Regions from separate parts of the Homo sapiens genome. Here regions 1 and 2 are each linked to region 3. The links are contacts of gene promoters, found by promoter capture Hi-C in blood cells and fetal thymus (Javierre and others, 2016). All regions are on one chromosome and are shown on one strand. The core of a region is centred on a gene start or on the middle of the fragment in contact, and the rest is flanking DNA. Distances in the headings are between cores, read along the strand shown.

Region 1 (4,436 bases), core at 1,169-3,668, 6.2 Mb before region 3:
CAATATCAGACAATATCCTCTAAGGCCTGAAGCAAATGAAGGAATAAGATCCGTAACAAAAGACTATATTAAAAGGGGTCTAATTATTCCTTGCGCCAGCATGTAATACTCCAATCCTTCTTGTAAGGAAGCCGAATGGGAAGAGCTGGTATTCTGTACAAGATTTGAGAACCGTCATCAACACTGTGATCCCCAGACATCTGGTAGTACCAAAGCCCCATCCTCTTTCGGCAGCTGGAAGTGAGACACTGTGACTCATTTATGTAGTGCCTTCTTTAGTATTCCAGTGGACCTAGAGTCAGTATTTGTTTGCTTTTACTTGGGATGACTGCGAGCATATCTGGCCTATCAGGAAATATTGCTGATGAAACTGCTGCCTCCATCACAGCCCAACAAAAAGCTACTGACTCACTGGCTAAGGCTGCACTGGACGACTGCATTGCTTTCGATTATTAGCTGAGCAAGCAAGTCTATGTATGGTGGCAAATACCTCTTGATGTGCATAAACCCTTTCCACGAAGTAGAAACTCATATGGGAAAAAGTACAAGCCACTAGGCTACACTATTCTGAACAATTCTCCATTTGATTTTCTTCGTAATACTTTTAGTTGACTCCCTCGAATAGGTTCCGTTTTTCATTCTGGCATACACATTCTCTTTTTCATTGTAATCCTTATGTGCACCGTACTTGGTAACATTTTTGTTTTAATAGAGATGGAGTCTTTCTGTGTTGCCAGGTTGGTCTTGAACTATCAGGCTCAAGTGACCCTCCTGCCTTGGGCTCCCCAAATGCTGGGATTACACACAAGAACCACTGCCTGGCCAGCACTACAGTTCTACTATCGAAATTATTAATGCTATGCTATGTATCTCTGGCGGTTTTTTTTTTTTTTTTTTTGAGACAGGGTCTCACACTGTTGCCCAGGCTGGAGGGTAGTGGCCTGATCATGGCTCACTGTAGCCCCTACCTCCTGGGCTCAAGGAATCCTCCCACAGCAGGTGCCACCATACCCAGCTAAGTTTTTTGTATTTTTTTAGGGGAGAGAAAGCGTTTCGCCATATTGCCCAGACTGGTCTCCAACTCCTGGGCTCCAGCGATCCTCCTGCCTCGGCCTCCCAAAGTGCTGAGATGAAAGACATGCGCCCCACACTGGCCTCTGGATGTTTGTTACTCCTGAGAAAACTAAAATCATGGCACTCCAAAGACTAGAGACGATTCAACAGGCAAGAGCAGGGATGAAATGCACGCAGCGACTGAGGTCTGGCTTCGCGGCTCTGTGACCCCGGTTCAGCTTCTGAGCGCCTGGTTCCTTGGCGGGACGCCTCCTCCTTTCCCGCAAGACCAGACACGACTGTCTGGGAAGCAGCGTTTCTGGGGCGCACCTTGACACTTGGATTTGGATCAACAATGCTTTCAAGAAGAAAGACTTTTGATCAAAAGCGGGAAATGAGAAAGCGACTTTCCTCTGAAAAGTGCCTCCCAGTCCCGAGGCTGCGAGGCCCCCACGCCAGGCTGGCTCCCACGGAAGCCGGGCACCCACCCGGCCCGACCAAGCGCCACTCCGCCCCGTGGACGGGGCGTCCCACCCCGGGGACGCCCGCCCCACACCGCGTTTGCACCCCGGAGGCCCCTTGCCGCAGAGGCGGACGGCGCGCCTCTCCCGGGCCCCTGGGGTCCGCGCCTCCCTCGGGCAGACTCTTTCGACTCTGCTCGAGCCTCCGCTTCTTCCTGCGGGCGGACGCCCCGGACACAACGGGCCCCGCTGTTCACGCAGGGGCGCCCCGGCGGGGCGGGCAAAGACCCGGGGACGCGGTCCCGTCCCGAGACGCTCAGCTCCGGCCCACCGCTCGCAGCTCCCGCCCCGGGCGCAGGTCCCGACCCCACGGGCCGTCTCGGAGCCGCAGCGGCCGCTTCCCTGCACGTCCTCACGCCCCCCGCACGGACGCCGCCAGCCCCGCGCCTCAGTTTCCCCACTAGCAGGATGGAAAGACGGGCCCCGCCCCGAAGCGTAGCGGCGTCTCCGTGGTAGCCAGTGCCCAGAGAGTCCGCCGGTCCCACCGCCCCTTCAAAGGAGAACCCGGCCCACCGCCCGCCGCGGCGGCGACCGCGCAGCCCACTCGTCACGCGGCCCGCGGCGTCCAGCCCGGGCCGGCTCACCTCAGGCGGTCGCTGCCGCCCTCGCGCCTGCGCGCCCCTCGCCCCGCCCCTCTCCCCGCCCGCGTCCCGCGCACCGCAGGCCTCTGCCCCTCGCCCACCGCAGGACCCGCCCCGCGCACGCGCCGCACGTGCCACACGCACCCCACGCCCCTGCGCACGCGCAGGCCCCAAGTCGCGGCCAATGGGCGACGCGGCCGCAGATCCGCCCGGCCCCGCCCTGCCCTGTGAGTTCCTCCGGCCGGGCTGCGGGGCTCCGCTCAGTCCGGGAGCGCAGCTGGGCCGCGGCGCTCCGACCTCCGCTTTCCCACCGCCCGCAGCTGAAGCACATCCCGCAGCCCGGCGCGGACTCCGATCGCCGCAGTTGCCCTCTGGCGCCATGTCGCAGAACGGAGCGCCCGGGATGCAGGAGGAGAGCCTGCAGGGTGAGGCGGAGGAGGCGGCGCGGGAGCCGAGGGGGCGCGGGGGGGAAGCCTGGGGAAGGCCAAGAGGGCGCCAAGGGGAGGTTGCCGGGGAGGCCTAGGGGGCATCGCGGGCCGGGCGAGGCTGCGCCATCCTCCCCTTCCGTACCCACCCCTCCTGCGGGCATGCGGAGCCCGGGGCGTGGGGACCCCGCGTACTGCCCGGGGTTCGCGGCCTCGCCACTCGGGCGGGGGTTGGCTTGGACCCGGGTCGGACCGCACGGGAAAGCCCCGATTCTCCAGCTCCGCGCGAGCTAGAATTCCACCTGGAGGTGAATCTGCGTCTCGCAGTTGGACCGAACAGCCTCAAAGTCCACGTTGCCCTCCGCGGTCTGTAGTTCAGACCAGTATTGGTTTTAATGACCAAACACCAAGGCGTGGCAAGTGGCCTGTTATGAGCTTTAATTTTGTTATTAATGTTTATATCCATGGTGACTGTTAGGATTTCCTCAAGGGTGAACGCGGAGATGGGAGGGGGTTACAGCGTTTTTAAAATATGGCATTAAATGGGCATGTTCCAATTTCACTAGAGGGTCGTTCCAAAACAAAGCTTTAAATGACTTACGGGTTAAGAAAACACAAGCAAAAGGACGCTGCCCGTGCAGCACTCAGTCGTTACAGCCTGCCTAATGCCCGAGTAGAGGCTCGCTGTGTGCCCTTGGCTAGATTCGCAAGACCATCCGTTCACGCAGCGGGAAACGCAGGCCCGGGGTGCAGGACTTGCCCCACGCACAGCCGGGTGGCGTGGAGACCCACCCCACCCGGTGGGTCCGCGTCAGAGTCCAGACGAGCCTTTGCTCAGGGAAGCGGGCACTGAAGCCGCCTTCCCAGGGTCCCTAGGGCCAAAGCCTCGGAGGAGGGACCTGGTGGCAGCTGACCTTTGTGTTCTTTGAAGCCAGAGTTTACTAAGCAAAATTAGCATGTAAATAAGCTTGGGAAAGGACTGCTGAAACCTCTGACAGTGAACTTTTAATCTTCATTGAGAGTTTTTAAAACCATATATTCACATAAATTTAGTGAGTTGCTAATTTTATTACAAAAAAAAAGATTTTACTAGGCAGGACTTAGTTACCGTAATATATTGAATAATATATATATATACATATGAACACTACAAGCTTTTTTTTTTTACCTTTTTTTTTTTTTAAGAGACGGGGTCTCACTGTGTTGCCCAGGCTGGTCTGAACTGGGCTCAAGCGATCCTCCCGCCTCGGCCTCCCAAAGTGCTGGGATTATAGGCCTGAGCCACCAGGCGCGCCTGGCCTAAAACCATATTCTTTAAAATCCTGTAATTCGGATTTTTCCTCTTGAAATTTAAACATTGGCTAATTACTATTTTGAAATAGATTAAGAGGTGTTTTCCTATCTTTTGTCATAAAATAAAGTCCAAGGGATGTTTTTATAAACTCTTTGCCATAAAATCACCCATTTTCCGGTTGTGAAGCCGCGTTACTCCTGACATTGTGCGTTTCACTGTCCGGCTGGGATCTGGGCGCTGGGAGGTGGAGGGGGCTCCGGGGGGCTCGGTCCTCTCTCCAATATGTAACTTACACAGGCTGCTGAGTCATTGGCAGTGCAAGGCGGCCAGCGCCGGAGTTACGAGATTTTTGTTTTTCTGTTTTGTTTATTCTATAAAAAGATAGTTACCCGCGGGGTGGATCCCATGTAGGCGATTCCTTGGGCCGCCCTGAGTGTCCGCGCGGCAGGACGGGGCCACTGTGGGCTCGGCGTGGGCGGGGTTGGCCGGTCCCGCGGGCTCCAGCTGCCTGCAAATCCGGGACGGAGCGGTGGCTCAGGCAGCGCTCACCTCTGCCTGTCCG
Region 2 (4,616 bases), core at 1,069-3,568, 7.6 Mb before region 3:
AAAGTCACATTTTCAAAGGCAGGAGTTGCCACTGATATGACGTAAAAGTACCAACTAGTGAAAACACTTGCGATGATTTAAAAAAAAAAAAAAAACAGGCTGGACGCAGTGACTCACGCCTGTAATACCAGCACTTTGGGAGGCCGAGGCGGGCGGATCATGAGGTCAGGAGATTGAGACCATCCTGGCTAACACAGTGAAACCCCGTCTCTACTAAAGATACAAAAAATTAGCCGGGCATGGTGGCGGGCGCCTGTAGTCCCGGCTGCTCAGGAGGCTGAGGCAGGAGAATGGCGTGAACCCGGGAGGCAGAGCTTGCAGTGAGTCAAGATTGCGCCACTGCACTCCAGCCTGGGCGACAGAGCAAGACTCTGCCTCAAAAAAAAAAAAAGAAAATAAGACACAAGACAAAGAGATAAAAGAAAAGACAGCTGTGCCTGGGGGACCACTACCACCAAGATGCAGAGACCGGTAGTGGCCCCAAATGTCTGGCTGCACTAATATTTATTGGATACAAAGCAAAAGGGGCAGGGTAAGGAGTGTGAGCCATCTCCAATGACAGGTAAGGTCACGTGGGTCATGTGTCCACTGGACAAGGGGCCCTTCCCTGCCTGGCAGCCAAGGCAGAGAGAGAGGGAGAAAGAGAGACAGCTTACGCCATTATTTCTGCTTATCAGAGACTTTCGGTACTTTCACTAATTTTGCTACTGCTATCTAAAAGACAGAGCCAGGTGTACAAGATGGAACATCAAGGCGGACTAGGAGCGTGACCACTGAAGCACAGCATCACAGGGAGACAGTTAAGCCTCCGGATAACTGCGGGCAGGCCTGACTGATGTCAGGTCCTCCACAAGAGGTGGAGGAGTAGAGTCTTCTCTAAACTCCCCTGGGGAAAGGGAGACTCCCTTTCCCGGTCTGCTAAGTAGCGGGTGCTTTTCCTTGACACTGACGCTACCGCTAGACCACAGTCGGCTTGGCAACGGGCGTCTTCCCAGACACTGGCGTTACCGCTAGACCAAGGAGTCCTCTGGTGGCCCTGTCTGGGCATAACAGAAGGCTCACACACTTGTCACGTCTCACTATGTCCCCTCAGCTCCTATCTCTGTATGGCCTGGTTTTTCCTAGGTTATGATTATAGAGCAAGAATTATAATAATATTGGAATGAAGAGTAATTGCTACAAACTAATGATTAGTAATATTCATATACAATCATATCTATGACCTATATCTAGTATAACTATTCTTATTTCATATGTTTTATTACACTGGAAAAGCTCGTGTCCTCGGTCTCTTGCCTCGGCACCTGGGTGGCTTGCTGCCCACAATGCGCACTCACTGACCACTCGGGCTCTGGCAGCACAACCTGGCCACTTCCCACAGGAGACGTGCACTCCCTGGGTGTCCAGGTCACGAACCACACATTAGATGGGGGCACGCCATATGAGAAACGATGCTGGCACGCTTCTGCAAAGCAAAGGGCTGTTTCTAAAGCAGAGCCTGCCTGGGCAAACTGACAAGTGTGCGTCCGGCAACTCTTCCGTTAGAACAAGCGACCTCGGGAAAACACAGCCACACTGCTGAAGGCGTCTGAGAGAAAGGCCTTTACCTGCTGCTCTGTAAGATCCGCCAAGTCCATCTTGTTGAGGACCAGCAAGTGAGGCTTAAGCCCAAGGGTTTCCTGAAACAGAGGGTTGCGGCCTGAAAGTGGGATGTGGCAAAATTAAGGTAAAAATTCCTCCAAAGCTTTACCAGCCAACCAACTTTTTTTCTTGCCATCAGTGAACGAATCATCACATCCTGCCAATTCATTCCTCAAGTACAGGAGAAAAGCCCCAGTTGGCAGGAACATTTAAACAGTTTCATAGCCCATCTAGAGGATTCCACTGCTGCACCGTACCGTCAGGCTTGAGTGACGCAGATATATGTATTAACAATGAAGTTTCAAAGACACGCAGTCTGGACCCCACATCACAGATTCTGATTAACTGGTCTAGAAAGGGGCCTCGCAATTCATATTTTTAAAAGCCTCCCCAGGTAATTCTAATGTGTAATATGACTTCAGGCAGAGGGGCCTCCCCTGCTCTGTGAAAGGATATCCGGGCATCGTGGACCTCGATGATACAGTCCACCAGCTTCAGGCTGCTCTGCATCTTCTTCAGCCCTGGAAAACAGAAGGACGCCTCAGCGAAGGGGCTCACAACCTTTCTAGAGTGATCGATTCAAGCTGAACCGTCCAGAATGACACGCCACCATAAATAACCTAAAAAGACTATATCTGAGGGAAGCGTACTAAGTAATGGTAACAGATAACATCCGCTGAGCGCCTCCTCCAAGGTCCGCACCCTCGGAGTGGGAGACTGGGAGGCACCCTGCCACAGGGTGGGCCATGTGTCAAAAGCCAGATGCGGTCTTCACCACCTGACTCATGGCTGACTCTGGGTGGAATATTTAACGTGCATGGGTCGCTTTTTTGTTTTCTGAGACGGAGTCTTGCTCTGTCACCCAGGCTGGAGTGCAGTGGCACGATCTCGGCTCACTGCAACCTCCGCCTGCCAGGTTCAAGCAATTCTCCTGCCTCAGCCTCCCGAGTAGCTGGGACTACAGGGACGCGCCACCATGCCGGGCTAATTTTTTGTATTTTTAGTAGAGACACGGTTTCACCATGCTGGCCAGGATAGTCTCGATGTCCTGACCTCGTGATCTGCCCACCTCGGCCTCCCAAAGTACTGGGATTACAAGCGTGAGCCACCGGGCCGGGCCCTTCCACGGGTCTTAATCTGGGCTATAACACAGAGTAACACTGGCTCATTAGGCCCCTGCTACCTCGCGGGGATGATGACGATAGTCCCCTAACCAGGAATACCACACACAACCAAGATAACAAAGCTTCCAGCTTTCTTCCCCTCCAGTGTTATCCGAAGACCGAGGACACAGCCTCAGTCACCCACACGGGCCCTTCTTCCCCCTCGGCCCCCAGTACACGCGGAGCCGACGCAGGAGTGGCCATCACAACACCTAGACGGGCTGGGCTGGCCCCAGAGGTCTTCTTGGGGCCGAATTGTGACAAACAGTAAGAATTACCAAAGACGTTAAGCAGGAGAACGACTCAAGATACCAGTTAAAACTGAACAGGTGCCTTCATACCCACTGTTTCATTTAGTCCCCAAAAGACTCAGAAAAGTCTATCTTGTCAAGAACATGTGGAAACGGAGGCTTCGGGGGATTAAAAGGGCAGAAGGAACTTGCTGGGAACAGAGGACAGGGGCGGCGGGCCAGAGGTAGGAGGTCAAGCAGGCCCTGGGTCCGAGGCTGCGCCGCGGGGGCACTCGCGGGAACGGGCCTCTCCCGCAGCTGCGCAGGGGAAGGGGTCCCGGCGGCTCCGGGAGCGGGTGAGAGCGGGGAAGGAGGGGAGACAAGGGAGGAGGGGCGGGGCCAGCCCAGAACGACCGGGAGAAGCAGGCGACGGCCGAAACCGGGGTGGGAGGGAAGCAGAGGCGCCGCGGCCGTAGGCATGACCTTGCCCCTCCCCGCCGTGCCTCACCCTTGGCCATGTGGCCCGGGAACCAGCGCGCCACGTCGCGACCGCACAGGGGGAAGTTCTCCCGCCAGGCGGCCTGGGCGGCGCTGCACAGCGCGCGCGGGGTCAATCTCATGGCGGCACCGTCCCCGGAAACGCTCCCGCAGCTGACCTCCTCTGCGCCGCTGCGACCCGCCTCTGAGGTTCCGGCGCTGCGGGCCTCCGGCACTGCGGGCTTCCGGCGCTCCAAGGGGCCGCACCACGGCCTGCGCGTGCGCACGACGTTGCCTCCGCCTCCGGCGAAGCCCGGAGTGGGCGGGGCCCGGGCCCAGAGGGAGGGACGAATGGTGGGTCGAGCGTCGGGGCGGGACTGCGAGGAGACCCGGGGGGACGGGGAGGTTCCTGGGTTTTGTGGGTTTAAGTAATTCGCAGATTTATTAACATTCATTAAATATTAAAAATCATCGTTCTCCCTTAAGCATATCCTGAGTATAAGTGTAAAAATTTAGCAATCTCTTTTTACAATTTGGTTAAAATCTCTCAAATACTTTAAATTTACCTTATAAATGTAATCTCTTCATTTTCTTTTTAAGTACTTCAGGGTTTTTGTTTGTTTTGTTTTGTTTGAGACGGAGTCTCCGCTCTGTTGCCCAAGAGTGCAGTGGCACGATCTCGCTCATTGCAACCTCCAACTCCTGAGTTCAAGGGATTCTCCCACCTCAGCCTCCGGAGTAGCTGGGATTACTGGCGCCTGCCACCACGCCGGCTGATTTTGTATTTTTAGTAGAGATGGAGTTCCACCATGTTGGCCAGGCTGGTCTCCAACTCCTGACCTCAAGTGATCTACCTGTCTCGGCCTCCCAAAATGCTGGGATTACAGGCATGAGCCACCGCGCGCAGCCTCAAGTACTTCAGGGTTTAATATAACAAACTGTTTCCAAATACTGACTGCAGTTCTGCTAAATTAAACCGATTAATTAATGAGGCTGAAATATTCTCCACTGTCCAAGACTAGACATAAATATAGTCGGATTTCAACTCTAAATCAGCAGTCAGCAACTGCTCAATTGCACACTGCGTTACAAGAGTATTACTCTA
Region 3 (4,690 bases), core at 702-3,201:
TTATGTGAGCAGCAAAACACAAGGGGTCGGGTGGGAGTGTTCCAAACAGGATCAAACTAAACCAAATAACAAACTGTCATTATTCAGGACTTAAACTTATTCCTTAGATATAAATACATTCTGTAAATAATGCTCATCTAGTGTTTTTTTCTTTGTCTAGACAGACATCTCGGACCTCTGTCCCAGACTATTATGGCACCACCAGGGAAATGGGCGGCAAATGGATTATCTGTCCAGCACCCTTTTCCTGGGTATGGGCTCATCTCCACATGGCTTCAGCAGGAACAGTCACGTTTGTAGAAAAGAGCCCTGTCCCTCATTCCCAGGTGATTTAGAATTAAGACTGTGGTGGTGTGATAGATTTCCCATGTTAACACAAGCAGCATTGATTTCTATAACCCAAAAGTAATAAAAGAGCCAGTCAAAGTTCTAAGTGAAAAATGGTGAGATGGCATTCAAGGCATAGAGCCAAAGTAAAATTTGTAAGGGAAGGAAGATTGATCACATACCCACACCATGGTGTCACCTCTAATCCTGCATCCATGCTTCTCTCCATGCTCCCCTCCATGCTCATCATGACTCATGATTACCTCTCTGATTTTATTTCCTATCACTCTCTCTTCCTTATTCTGATCCAGCCATCTAGGCTGCCTTTCCGTCCCTCAATTGTGAAGACTCTTGATTTTCTTGTAAATGAACTAGAAAGCCAATGCAGCAATCTAAGCAGAGGCCTGAGATCAGACCTATAAGATCTCTCTGACTGTAAGTGGAGTATAGACTGATTGTAGGGGAACAAAAATGGAGAAAAGAACGCCGGTTAAAAGCTGTTACATTAAATAGTAGTCCAGGCAAGAGATGATAGAGGTGTGGACTACGATGGTCTCAGAATTAGTGCTGAGAAATGTCTGGATAACAGGATTTACTGATGGGCTGGATATAGGATGAGGAAAGGGAGGAATTAAAGTTAAGCCCCAGGTTTTGGGTTAGAGCAGCTGGTGACTTTAGGGGCCATTTATAGAAATGGTGACGATTAAGAGAGGGGCATGAATTATTATACAAATTCTGCTTTGGACAAGTTAAGGCTGAGGTATCTATTTAAACATTCAGTAGGCTGAAGGATCATTCAGTCCTAATTGTTTACTAAACAAATAATAAGTACCTATATTGCCAGGCACTACGGTAGGACCTAGTCTGAAGAAAGGAACACAGTTCTATGAGACTATGAAACCAAAGATTTACCCACGACTTGGTCAGCTGCCCCAGGAGCCAGAAAATACAGCCTAGCTGAGATCTGAAGAAGGAAGGGAAAACTGCAGGATAAAGAAGAGCATTTGAAAAGGCTTCTACGGTAGAACGCGGCAAGAGCCTTCAAGAAACTGAGGGCCCAAGTGAGTGCCGCCCGCAGAGTGAAGAGGAGGACAGCTGCTGCCCCGAGGGGAGAGGGCCCCCTCTGCGAGCCCGGGGTGGCCGATTCAGGATCTGAGGCTTCAGCCTGAGAACTAAAGAGGACGAGAAGAACACACCTGTTGTGGCGGGCTTTTTCGGGGAGGACGCGGGTTGGGAGATTAACTGGACCGGACTAGACCTTTAAAAAATAACTACTATGGCTGCAGTGTGTTAAAGACCGAGGAGAAACCTGAGAAAGAACTTATCTCCAGTTTCTCCTCACAGACCCTCAGGGTCAGGGAAGACCCTACACTATTTTTACACAGCCTGGGCTTGCCAAAAAGTTTTTCTCAGGTATAAACCAACTAGGGGAGCGTGTCCTTCTCACCTCGTCAATGACCTCGTCCTCTTCATCCTTTTCCTTGTCACTGTCATCATCGTCTTCATCCTCATTTTCGACTTCTTTTTCCTCTTCCTCGTCGCGCTGGACTGGGGGATCCGGCGGCTGCGGAACCCCACTTTCCACGGCACGCCGCTTAGACCTGGACGCCATGTTGCCGCTCACACTGCGCCTGCGCAGCTTCCCCTTGCCTGACCTTCCGGACCAGCCCATAGTAGCCAAGGGGGTGAGGAACTACGAAGAAGCTCGGCGCTGAGTGCACGTCAACCCCAATGCCCCTGCTGGATTCCGCAGCCATGACCCCTTACAGTCACGTCCAGCTTGCGGTCCCATCTTGCTTTTTTCTTCCGCTTTCCACCCTCCATCACTCCTCCCAAAGCTTCCCCTCCCCTTCCCGTAGTGGTTCAACCCATCTAACCTCTGGCCTCATTCCGTGGCCTGGATGGCGGTGCGCATGCGCGAGCGCCTAGCTGCGCGCAGCCACCCACGCGACCCCAGTCTGAGGTGCGGGGTCCTGGGGCCCGGCGCGGGTGGCCGCCGCGGCCCCTCGGGCTGCGTGGGGAGGGGGCTTCCGCCCCTGTTGTCATTGCTCCTGCAGCCTTTTCGCTGGGACTGCGCGACACCGCCCCCCGACCGGGTGCCCGCTGTGTGCCAGGCCGGGTGCTGGGCACGGTCCCGCGAGGTAGGTGTCGCCGCCCGCTGTACCGGTACGGACGCCGAAGCCCGCGGGCGTGCAGGGGCCCGGCCCCGGGCGGTGTGTGACACAGTGGGGCCAGGGCCCCGAGGCTTCCGCGGACCTGGGCCTGCCCAGGCGGGGATGTCCGCTGCCGCTACCGCTGCGCCGGTGACGGAAGGCGCCTGCCCAGCCTACCCTCGCCGAGCTTCTGGAGCGCATTTCTTGACCTAAAAGTTTTTTTAAAGCCGGCACCGCAGTTAAAAATGCTTCGGCGGGGGGCCGGGCCCGGTGTCTCGCGCCTGTAATCCCAGCACTTAGGGAGGTCAAAGCGGGTGGATCACCAGAGGTCAGGAGTTCGAGACCAGCCTGGCCAACATGGCAAAACCTCATCTCTGCTAAAAGTACAAAAATTAGCCGGGCGTGGTGGCGGACACCTGTAATCCCAGCACTTTGGGAGGCCGAGATGGGTGGATCACTTGAGGTCAGGAGTTCGAGACCAGCCTGCCCAACATGGCGAAATCCCATCTCTACTAAAAATACAAAAACTAGCCAGGTGTGGTGGTGCGCGCCTGTAGTCCCAGCTACTCAGGAGGCTAAGGCAGGAGAATCGCATGCCCCCAGGAGACGGAGGTTGCAGTGAGCCGAGATCGCGCCACCGCACTCCACACTCCAGCCTGGGCGACAGAGGTAGACCCTATCTAAAAAAAAAAAAAAATGCTTCGGGGCCAGTGGGGTAGTCTAGGTTAAAGACCCGAGCCTATTTGGAGAGAAGAGTGGAGGGGACTGCGGCCAACTGCAGAGCGAGCGCCAGCCCCTGTGGCAGGTGGGGATGCAGCCTGGGGCAGCCAGGTCTTCCCATTGCGAGAGAAACAGGGTTCATCAGCTTTCTAGGAATAAGATCTGCGGTTCTCAATTGATTTTTCTCTGTAAAATGAGGGGGGTGGGTTGGATATGTTTGATTCTAGGAATGGTGTGAGCTGCGCTAATAGGCTGCTTCTGTTTAAGCAGGGTAACATCTGATAAATCAGTGATCCTTCATCAGTACGAGATGGCGTGCCCTAAAGGTCCCCAGGAGCCCAGATTGCCCATAATCGTGTTCTGTGATTTCGGTCTTTCCTGGGAGTCTCTTGTCTACCCAGCCATGTCATGGATATTAAAGTAATACTTACACATCAGCGCTCCACATCTGATGGGGCAGCTTGAAATGGCCTCTTTGGGTCGCACAACTGCAAAAACATGTTCCTGTAATGGAGAAGAGAGGAAGCTGTCAAAAAAGACCCATCAAAAGGCTAAGATTAGAAAAAAGACTCAGAAAGACCATGTGAACATATCAACAGAGTTGCACTGAGATACCATAGCCAATTTTTTTTCCTGTTTCTTTATACTTTTTTTATGGTGGTAAAAGATACATAACATACATTTTACCATCTTAACTATTTTTAAAGATACAGTTCAGTGGCATGAAGTGCATTCACATTGTGCAACCATCACCACCACTATCCATTGGCAGAACTCTTTTCATCTAGCAAAATTGAAACTGTAGTTAAACAACTCCCTTATTTTCCCTCCATGACCTTTCTACTTTCCATCTTTATTAATTTGACTATTCTAGAAACCTCATGTAAGTGGAGTAACACAATATTCTTCCTTTTGTGACTATTTCATTCAGCATGATGTCTTCAAAGTTTATCCCATGCTGTAGCATGCATTAGGATTTCCTTCCTTGTTAAGGCTGAATAATACTCCATTGCATGTATAGACCACATTTTGTTTATCTACTTATCTGTCGGTAAACATTTTGGTTACTTCTACATTTTAGCTGTTGTAAATAATGTTGCTATGAACATGAGTATCAAATATCTGTTCGAGTCCCTGCTTTCAATTCTTTGGGGTATATATGTAGCAGGGGAATTGCTAGATCATATGGTAATTCTATGTTTATTTTTTTGAGGAACTATACTTTTTTGTAGTTTGCAAATCTTTCACAGTAAACAGGATCACTTTTGTAAGACAAGTAGGGGAAAAAGCCTTACTTTATGCCCTCAGATTAGTTCCCAGTGTTGAGCTCATGGTCAAAGTGTGAATTAGAATAGTGAATGTGAAAGTAAATACAGTACTGACCCTAGGGAACTGAACTCAGCAGGTAGTAGATTGCTTACCACTCGTTCAGTGTTCATCTTTAGCTCAGAATTTATCTTAATGAGGCAGAGGGATGGTAGCAAGTGGTT

What was found. The method cuts DNA at HindIII sites, captures the fragments that hold promoters and counts their contacts. A CHiCAGO score of 5 or more calls a contact.
Region 1: the fragment with the promoter of BNIP3 here is called in contact with the fragment with the promoter of BCCIP in region 3 in 2 of 17 cell types (total CD8 T cells and naive CD8 T cells); the score reaches 8.8 in total CD8 T cells.
Region 2: a fragment that was not itself captured here is called in contact with the fragment with the promoter of BCCIP in region 3 in 1 of 17 cell types (fetal thymus); the score reaches 5.2 in fetal thymus.

The regions. Positions count from the first base shown.
Region 1 is chr10:131,979,905-131,984,340 of GRCh38, reverse strand. It overlaps BNIP3 (BCL2 interacting protein 3), which reads left to right and starts at 2,418. Exons shown (of 6, transcript NM_004052.4): 1 at 2,418-2,580. The coding sequence starts at 2,535. RefSeq lists silencers at 1,748-1,867, 1,908-2,097, 2,148-2,447, 2,678-2,907 and an enhancer at 2,315-3,239. The HindIII fragment of the contact is 3,266 bases long and covers 1-3,168 here.
Region 2 is chr10:133,393,259-133,397,874 of GRCh38, reverse strand. It overlaps MTG1 (mitochondrial ribosome associated GTPase 1), which reads right to left and starts at 3,718. Exons shown (of 11, transcript NM_138384.4): 1 at 3,543-3,718; 2 at 2,098-2,162; 3 at 1,608-1,712. The coding sequence starts at 3,654. RefSeq lists an enhancer at 2,038-2,992 and silencers at 3,317-3,516, 3,577-3,926. The HindIII fragment of the contact is 1,143 bases long and covers 1,747-2,889 here.
Region 3 is chr10:125,820,807-125,825,496 of GRCh38, reverse strand. It overlaps BCCIP (BRCA2 and CDKN1A interacting protein), which reads right to left and starts at 1,951. Exons shown (of 7, transcript NM_078468.3): 1 at 1,775-1,951. The coding sequence starts at 1,939. It overlaps UROS (uroporphyrinogen III synthase), which reads left to right and starts at 2,239. Exons shown (of 10, transcript NM_000375.3): 1 at 2,239-2,468. RefSeq lists silencers at 1,187-1,406, 2,163-2,592 and enhancers at 1,883-2,082, 1,626-2,311. The HindIII fragment of the contact is 3,281 bases long and covers 1-2,167 here.